Regions from separate parts of the Homo sapiens genome. Here all the other regions are linked to region 2. Evidence: promoter capture Hi-C in human tissues and cell types (Jung and others, 2019). All regions are on one chromosome and are shown on one strand. The core of a region is centred on a gene start or on the middle of the fragment in contact, and the rest is flanking DNA. Distances in the headings are between cores, read along the strand shown. Region 1 has its middle 16 kb from the start of RNASEH2C. Region 2 holds the start of RELA (RELA proto-oncogene, NF-kB subunit). Region 3 holds the start of AP5B1 (adaptor related protein complex 5 subunit beta 1).

Region 1 (2,700 bases), core at 174-2,673, 74 kb before region 2:
TGGCCACCAGAACATTTTTCTTTGGTGTCTCCACTGCTAGATGCTCTGGTAGCTCAAGGACTCTGAGACCTCCCCTTGAGCAACATGGTTTACCACCTCCCTTCCTTATTTGATGCTATGGGGTCCCTTCTCTGCCTCTTCCTGTCTTCCCTACGTATCTGGGCAAACAAAATGTATTGAGATAGACAGGTCCCAATTTTATAAGTAACTTGGATCCATCTGTCTTGTGTAGGTCACTTCATTTGTGTGATGGGTGTTGTGTTTAGCATACTATCAAATTGGCTTATAAATAAAAGAGAATTCATAAATTAAAAAATAAGACTAGTCTAAATTTATTAGTTTGAAGGGAATGTTATGTCTTCTAAAATTTAACTTTAAGATTTTTACCTAGATGAACCTCTGATGTTTGTAGCCTTTAGAATGGTTAGGATGGCTTTTAAACAGTGAGCTTATGTATAGTTGAAAATCTTAAAGCTGTGAAATAGTTCTCATCTATAGAGTGCCAATGTCTGATGAGCAGTTCAGAATTTCTTGCTCTTTAGATTTATATAAAATAAGCCAAAGAAAGTGTGTTTTTTATTGGGAAAAATAATAATTTTTGTCTAATTTGGAAGTTATTAAAAGAGAGGTTCAAAATATGAAGGAACCAGTAAGTAGAAAAGAGAGATATGAAGAAAGTTATGGATAGATGTACTTTTTGCAAGGAAGAATACAAAGAAGGATACAAGGAAGGATATAAAGAAGGATACAAGGAAGAATACAAAGTTATTTTATATGAGGAGGGATCTTGTGTAGTAAATTCTTATCCTAGAGTAAAATGATGAGTTCTTTAAGGAAGGGGTCCTATAGGACAAGTCAGAAAGTCCAAGCATGTTGTAGATGGTCCATGTGGGTCATGATGGGGTTTGTGAAGGGGAATTTTGTGTATGATTAAGCTTAAGCTGACTATGACTAAAGGAAAACTGTGGTAGACTTTCTAGAGAATGGTCTATATATTGGCAACAGGTTTTCTTAAGGTATTGATTTGCTAAATTACAGGAAGTTTTGCTTTTAATAATCTACCTGGTTTATTTTAAAATGTCTTGGATTCATGTCTCAGAGATTCAACTGTTGTTGTGTCTCACTACTTTCAATTCTTTCTCCCTTTAAGAAGGCCTGGGATGATGGCTCTTTCCATCAACCTTTTCATCAACATTGTGACTTTTTTTCCTCTGGTTCTGACTATTGGGCCCTGGTACTAAAATGTTTTGTCTTAGAGGTCTGCGAAAACAGTGTTTTCCCCGAATATAGCTTGATTCTATGCTGTTTTTTTTTTTTTTTTACATATAACCTTATTATTGGCATTTAGTTTTTGACTCTTATATTGCTTTAAAAGATTTTAAGGGCAAATGAGTGCCTGCTCACCTCCATTTCCTTCTGACCTAGGATGTTTAATTGGCTATAAGTCTTTTGACTCTAAGTCCCTTAGCCAAAGGGAATTCCAAAGAAGCCTTCAAAAAAAAAGAAGTCAGACCATGACAGGAAACAGGGGGCCAAACATGCCTCACTGTGCCACCCCTTAGAATTTAGGCTAGGCACAAAGGCCCTTCAAAAATTATAATAACAAAGTACTTCCCTTTCCCACATAGGAAAGAAATAGCTCCTCTGTTCAACCTGAACACCTAGTCTTACAAAAAACTTTTTGTTAAAAAGGATCCCCAGAGGATCAATTACAACCCAAATGGAAGAGCCCCTATCAGGTATTGTTAAGTACCTTCCCTGCTGTTAAACTTCAGGGAATCACTAGTTGGGTACACCTGTCCAAGATTAAATCTGTTTCTTATGAATCCCTGACGGCATAAGAGGAGGACACCATGATTTACACCTGTGAGCTCCTATAAGACTTAAAGCTGTTGTTTCACAAACACAAAGATAAAAAACATGATGCCATGGGCATAGATGCATTAATTTTCTCATCCTCCAAATTATAATTTTCCTGTTGACCTCCTACTTAAGTTTATGTCTTCTAGATTCCACATAAAGATGATGCTGGCACAAGGTTTCAACCCATCCCATCTTATGACCTGAAAAATGAAAATATCCTGTTGGACCCCTTAGATCAGGTATCCAGAGATTACCAGAGGCTAGGGGCATGGGAGAGTGGGAAATGGGAAGATATTGCTCAAAAGGTACAAAGTTTCAGTTAGACAGGTATATTAGAGTTCTCTAAAGGGACAGAACTAATAGGATAGATGTATATATGAAGGGGAGTTTATTGAGGAGTAATGATTCACATGATCACAAGGTGAAGTCCCACAATAGGCTGTCTGCAAGCTGAGGATCAGGGAAGCCAGTCCAAGACCCAAAACCTCAAAAGTAGGGAAGCCAACAGTGCAGCCTTCAGTCTGTGAACAAAGGCCCGAGAGCTGCAAACCACTGGTGTAAGTCCAAGAGTCCAAAAGCTGAAGAACTTGGAGTCTGATGTTCGAGGGCAGGAAACATCCAGCAAGGGAGAAAGATGAAAGCCGGAAGGCTCAGCAAGTCAAGTCCTTCCATGTTCTTCTGCCTGTTTTAATCTAGCTGTGCTGGCAGCTGATTAGATGGTGCCACGCCAGACTAAGGGTGGGTCTGCTTCTCCCAGTCCACTGACTCAAATGTTAATCTCCTTTGGCAACACCCTCACAGACACACCCAGGAACAATACTTTGCATTCTACAACAT
Region 2 (2,846 bases), core at 1-2,500:
GTCACCTGAAGTCGGCCTCCCCCGCCCCCTGCCAAAAGTAAACACTTTTCTAATCAGGGCCAGCCACTGGAGAAACTGAAATGAGTGGGCGGGGTGCTAACTCTATTTTCACTTTTCTCTTCCTGTTTCTTCAGAGCCTGGGAAACAAGTCAGAATTTCCAATCTTTTCCAATTCCCACATGATTTCCTAATTTAAGACGAATTCAGAGAAAATAAAAAAGTCTTTCTCCATCTGGAGAAGACTCCGCCCCCTGCAGTGGAGCATCCTCCTTTGGGGATGAGGCCTGGGGTGGGGGTGCGTCAGCCCCAGCCTCCACACGGACGCGCCTTGGGCTTGGTCTTGGGGGAGCTACCTGCACTGTGGGGTCACATGACAGAATTAGTGGTCAGCCCTAGCTGGAGGTCCAGGGCAAACACAGGCGGGGGCAGGGGGGTGGGGGGTCGTGAGCCTGCTGATTCAAGTGTCCCTGTGGGTCCCGCACCTTCTGAGACACAAGCGCCAGGCTTCAGAGACGAGGCTCCGGGATTTACCCCTGGGGGCCTCCTGCTCCCACAGCCGATGAGAGCCGGCAGTTTGGCTGTATCGTAAGCTGGCGCTTTAGCTGGAGAGGGACGAGCCCTCGGCCAGCTCGCCAGCGGGAGGGCCTCAGTCGTCCCATCCGGGCTGTAGGCTCCGCAAAGCTCTTGATGCACTGTCAGGCTGGGAGGTCCGGCCGCTCCCATTCCCCCACAGCCGCATCTAGATTGGGGTGGGTAGGACATTTTAACGTGCTTCTGAGACAGCCACCACCGAAAGGCACCTTTAGCGGTTAGGAAACCCGCGCGGAGTTCAACCACCCGGCCTCTGCGGAGCAGAAGGCCCGGTCGGGCTTTTCCCTGCGCGGGGCGGGCGGCCGCAGCCCAGTAGCCCTGGCTTTGCTCCAGACCCGGCCCAGAGTGACATCACCAAACTCCGCCGATCGGCGGGAGGGGGCCCTGAAATCCCCTAAAAACAAAGTGAGTAATCGGCGGACCCACCCTCCAGGCGGGGCCGGGACCCGGGAGCTAGCCGAGCCACCGGGCACGCCAGCCTCTTCGTCCTCGGCGAGGCGCGCACTTGGCCCCGACCCCCGGCAGCGGCTGTGCGTGCAGCCTCTTCGTCCTCCGCGCGGCGTGCACTTGCTCCCGGCCCCTGCGCCGGGCGGCGGCGGGGCAGCGCGCAGGCGCGGCCGGATTCCGGGCAGTGACGCGACGGCGGGCCGCGCGGCGCATTTCCGCCTCTGGCGAATGGCTCGTCTGTAGTGCACGCCGCGGGCCCAGCTGCGACCCCGGCCCCGCCCCCGGGACCCCGGCCATGGACGGTGAGGTCGCCCTCTGACCCCGCGGGGTGGCATCGCCGGGGCCGCCGCGGCTGTGGCGGGAGCCCCCGCGCCGCTTTCCGCCCCTTCCTGCGCCGACGGGCGCTGCGCAGGGAGCGGTCGGCCTGCCGGATGGTGGCGCGGGGCGGGGCAGGCGGGGAGGGGTCTGACTCAGTTTCCCCTCTGGGTGGAGGGGGTGGCCCTTGACTCAGCATCCTCCCTGGGTGGGGGAGCAGAGGGAACCTTGACTCAGTTTCCCTCCACACCGTCCATGGGGGCAGCTCTGGCTTCGTTTCCCTATTAGGGGAGAACGCATCTGATTCAGTTTCCTCTCTGGAGGGAGGTGGGGCGTGCCCTCCCTCAATTTTCCTTAAGAAAGTACAACAGGCCCTGATTCAGCTTCCCTCTGGAGAAGAAGGATTCCTTACCCCGTTTTCCCTCAAGAAGCAGGTGTTTCTGGTTCCTTTCCTCCACCCCTTAGTTTCACCGCAGGTTCTAGGGAGCAGGTCCTGACTCAGTTCCCCTGGGAGGGAGCCTGGCTTCTCCTCTCCGTGGAGAGCAGATTCCTCCTTGTGAGAATGGGCATTGGGTGTGTGCTGACCCTGATCTCCCTCCCCTTTCAGAACTGTTCCCCCTCATCTTCCCGGCAGGTAAGTGGCCCCCGCGGCGGTCGGGGAGGTGCTCCCTGGGGTAGGGCAGTGGGGGCAGCCGCCTAATGGGGCTGCGGTGTCCCCTGGCAGAGCCAGCCCAGGCCTCTGGCCCCTATGTGGAGATCATTGAGCAGCCCAAGCAGCGGGGCATGCGCTTCCGCTACAAGTGCGAGGGGCGCTCCGCGGGCAGCATCCCAGGCGAGAGGAGCACAGATACCACCAAGACCCACCCCACCATCAAGGTCAGCACTGCGCCAGGGTGTGCGGGGAAGGGACTGTGGAACCCCAGCCCTCTGTGTTTGGGAGTCAGGTTTGGATGTCTGGGCCTCTGTACTTTGGACAGATCAATGGCTACACAGGACCAGGGACAGTGCGCATCTCCCTGGTCACCAAGGACCCTCCTCACCGGCCTCACCCCCACGAGCTTGTAGGAAAGGACTGCCGGGATGGCTTCTATGAGGCTGAGCTCTGCCCGGACCGCTGCATCCACAGGTGAGGTCCCTGCAGGCTAGGAGGCCCAGCATGAGGGGACAGGAGGCGGGCTATGAAGTAGCCGCTACAGTGTTACTCCTTTCTGGACCCAGGGCAGAATTCCTCACTCCTTGCCCTGACTCAGCTCTGCAAGTAAACTGCCTTTGTCTTGAAATTATCTATTTGTACGTTTACTCTAGCAGATGAGTTCCAGGGGATACGGATGGGTCCCTAATCACTTCTGAATTCCTGACCCCTGTAGCTGGAAGGACAAGTCCCTCAGAGTCACGTCTCTTGTTTGAGGAAGAAAACCATTGAACCAGCACTCTCCCCTGGAGTTGACATTGCAGTTGACAGAGACAGGCTGTAAAAAAATATACAGGCCGGG
Region 3 (2,756 bases), core at 81-2,580, 120 kb before region 2:
GGCTGCCTCACCCCACAGCCTCTTGGGTGGGAGTTATCACTCCCATTTTATAGATGGGGAAACTGAGGCACCTAGAGGGAAGTAGTTTGGGGCTGCTGCCTGTGAGTCAACTGTGGAGCCAGGGCCTAGAGGAGCCGGGACCGGGCCTTCTGGCTGGACCTGTCCCTCCGAGTGGGTCTCTATCTCTCCATCCCCAAGGGCACCCAGACAGCCTCCTTTTTGGCACTCTCCACCCCTCAACTCTCCACCACCTCCCATCTGGAGCAGGATGGGGTAGGGAGAGGCCAGCTGGCACTGGCTTGCATGGGGGCTCAGGCCTGTTTCATCTTCAAAGCGGCTAATTGGAGCCAGAGGGGTGGTGAGGTTTGGGCGCCGGCGGTTCTGTGCCCTGGAAACCGGTGGTCTGTGGGGCACCTGCAACCTGGGCCTCTGGCCTGGGAGAGACCGCCGCCCAGACCCCCGAATGCCCCCAAACAGCCAGAATCCAGCCCACTGAAGTCTGGAGTGCTGGGTTCCGGCCCGGCTTGGCCCCAGATCTCGGTTGGCAAGGCCGCCCTCCTCCTGGGCCTGTTTTCCCCATCGCTAGGCATGCCTCGAGCCCCGTGACCGGCCAGGCCCTGACAGCCCGCACTTCCCGAGTATGGATCCCGTTGTTTTCGACTTAGGGCCCTGCCCCGCCCTCGCCGTCACGACCCCTGCGGGCCGCCAGCGCGGCCTCGGGCAAACAAAGGTCAGAAGCTCCTGGCTGGCCGCAACCGCGGCGCCGGCTCCTCGCCCCCAAGCCGAGCGGGCTGGGGGCCCGGGCAGGCGTCAGGGAAGCGAAGCCAAGCCCTGCGGCGCCCGCCGGACCGGTTCAGCTGGGGCGCTTTTCCTGCGGGCGCCCTGCGACCGCACCTTGGTCACCCCCAGGGGCCACTCCGGGAGCCCCAGGACCCGCACCCACGCCCCCCGGGGCCGCGCGTCTGGCGCAGGGTGCGGTGTGCCCGGGCGCCGGCGGGGGGCGCGCTGGCTGCCGCCCTGCGCGGCTTGGCGGGCGCTGGTGGGACCGGGCCGCTGTCCGCCGAGGGCCGCGGGATCGCAGCCCTGCGCCGCGGTACCCGGCATCTGGGGCCCAGGCCCACCCCGCTCCGCCACCCCTACCCACTCCCCTCCGCCTTTCCTGCCCCGGCCTGCGGCGGTTTCGGGGAAGGGGGCCTGCGCGGCGGGACAGTTAGTCAGCCCCCGCGAAACCTGCGAGTCGACACCTGCGGGAGGCGGTGGCCCCGTTACGCCCCGCCCCTCCCCGCCCGGACTCGGCCGCCCCCGCGCCGCGCCCCGCCCCGCGCCGCCAGCCCGGAAGGAGCCGGCCGGCCTGAGTGCCCGCGGCGGCTGAGTCAGGCGGCGAGCGCGGCCCGTTACCGCCGGCGCCGGGGGCCGGGGTGGCGCTGTGGTTTCGGTGCGGGCCGCGGGCGGGAGGGAGGCGGCCTAACGAGCTCTCGGCACGCACCCTCCCCCGCCCTGCTCCTGTCCTGTCCCGCGAGGGCCCCGGCGCCCAGCTCTGGCGTCGGCCCCGAGAGCCCTGGTCTCACCGTGGGAGCCGGGCGCGGGTCCCGCCGGCATCTGCGCGGCGTCTGGGGGTGACCGCAGCCCCTCGGGGTCGGCAGCGGGCCCCGCGCTCCCGGTGGCTGCGGCCTGAGGGTCCCTCTTCCCTGCGCAGGGGCCCGCGCGCCTCACCATGGGGCCCCTGAGCCGGGACGCCTGGGCCCAGCGCTTGGGGGCCTTCCGGGCCAGCCCGTCTGCCTTCATGGCAGGTCCCGAGGGGGAGGATTTGGGTCGCGACCTGCTGAGCGACCTGAGAAGTGAGAAGCTGAGCGAACAGACCAAGGTAGGCCCCCACGCGTCCCCTGCGCCGTTCCGCAGGGTCACCCCAGCCCGCCGCGTCATGAACCTCATCTTCGTGATTCCCTCCTAATCCCCCATCCAGGTTTCCCTGCTGGCCCTGAGCATGGAGTACCCTGCGCAGCTGTGGCCCGACGCCTCTGCGGCCGAAGTGGCCGCCACCTCCCTGTTGGACACCTTGGTCCTCCTACCCCCGCGGCCCTCAGCTCTCCGTCGGCCACTGCTGCTGGCGGCCACCACTGCCCTGGCGGCGGGCGGCGCGCTGGGCCCCACCTCGGGCGCCTCCTGCCGGCTCCTGCCCCTACTGCTCGGCCTGGCCGCGGGTAGCGATCTGGGGCGAGGCTTTGTCCCCGCCTCGGAACAGCGCCCCTTGCAGGCCACGGCCTGCGAGTGCCTGCGAGAGCTAGAGAGCTGCAAGCCCGGGCTGCTGGGGGGCTCCCTGGGGTTGCTGCGGGGCCTGCTGGGGCAGGAAGGCCCTGTCCAGCCACTCAGCCTGTTGCTGGCCCTCGCTTTGCGCAACACCTTGGTGCTCCAGTCCCGGGTTGGGGCTGGCCTGGGGGGACTGCTCACGGATAAGGTCTCCCCAACTGGGGGTGGTCCCTGGGATTGGACACTAGTGGAGGAGGGCGATGGACGCCTTCAGCCCCAGGCACCCAGCTGGCCGGCAGCTGAGGAGGGAGAGGGGGAGCGTAGCCTTACAGCACGAGAGCACAGCCCTGAGGAGGCGCGGGAGCTGCGGGCTGCGGTGATCCAGCTTCTGGACACCTCCTATCTGCTCACTCCTGTGGCCCAGGCCCAGCTCCTGTGGCTGCTGGGCTGGGCCCTGCGGGGTCTGCAGGGACAGCCACCGGCACTCTTCAAGCCGCAGCTGGTACGGC

What was found. The method cuts DNA at HindIII sites, captures the fragments that hold promoters and counts their contacts. A contact is called where the count stands out against the background at its distance.
Region 1: a fragment that was not itself captured here is called in contact with the fragment with the promoter of RELA in region 2 in 3 of the 25 tissues and cell types used here (aorta, lymphoblastoid cells and mesenchymal stem cells).
Region 3: a contact is called between the fragment with the promoter of AP5B1 here and the fragment with the promoter of RELA in region 2, in 4 of the 25 tissues and cell types used here (dorsolateral prefrontal cortex, heart right ventricle, lymphoblastoid cells and 1 more).

What each region holds. Positions count from the first base shown.
Region 1 is chr11:65,735,204-65,737,903 of GRCh38, reverse strand. No RefSeq gene overlaps it. Among named protein-coding and RNA genes, the nearest start is that of RNASEH2C, 16 kb to the right of the region's middle. The HindIII fragment of the contact is 9,114 bases long and covers 1-2,700 here.
Region 2 is chr11:65,661,320-65,664,165 of GRCh38, reverse strand. It overlaps RELA (RELA proto-oncogene, NF-kB subunit), which reads left to right and starts at 1,250. Exons shown (of 11, transcript NM_021975.4): 1 at 1,250-1,340; 2 at 1,961-1,987; 3 at 2,078-2,229; 4 at 2,331-2,479. The coding sequence starts at 1,334. It overlaps RELA-DT (RELA divergent transcript), which reads right to left and starts at 1,160. Exons shown (of 4, transcript NR_183625.1): 1 at 1,018-1,160. RefSeq lists an enhancer at 744-943 and silencers at 1,034-1,443, 1,504-1,563. The HindIII fragment of the contact is 29,460 bases long and covers 1-2,846 here.
Region 3 is chr11:65,779,550-65,782,305 of GRCh38, reverse strand. It overlaps AP5B1 (adaptor related protein complex 5 subunit beta 1), which reads left to right and starts at 1,330. Exons shown (of 2, transcript NM_138368.5): 1 at 1,330-1,864; 2 at 1,964-2,756. The coding sequence starts at 1,715. RefSeq lists enhancers at 1-616, 1,346-2,248 and silencers at 877-1,616, 1,657-1,836, 1,987-2,256. The HindIII fragment of the contact is 21,769 bases long and covers 1-2,756 here.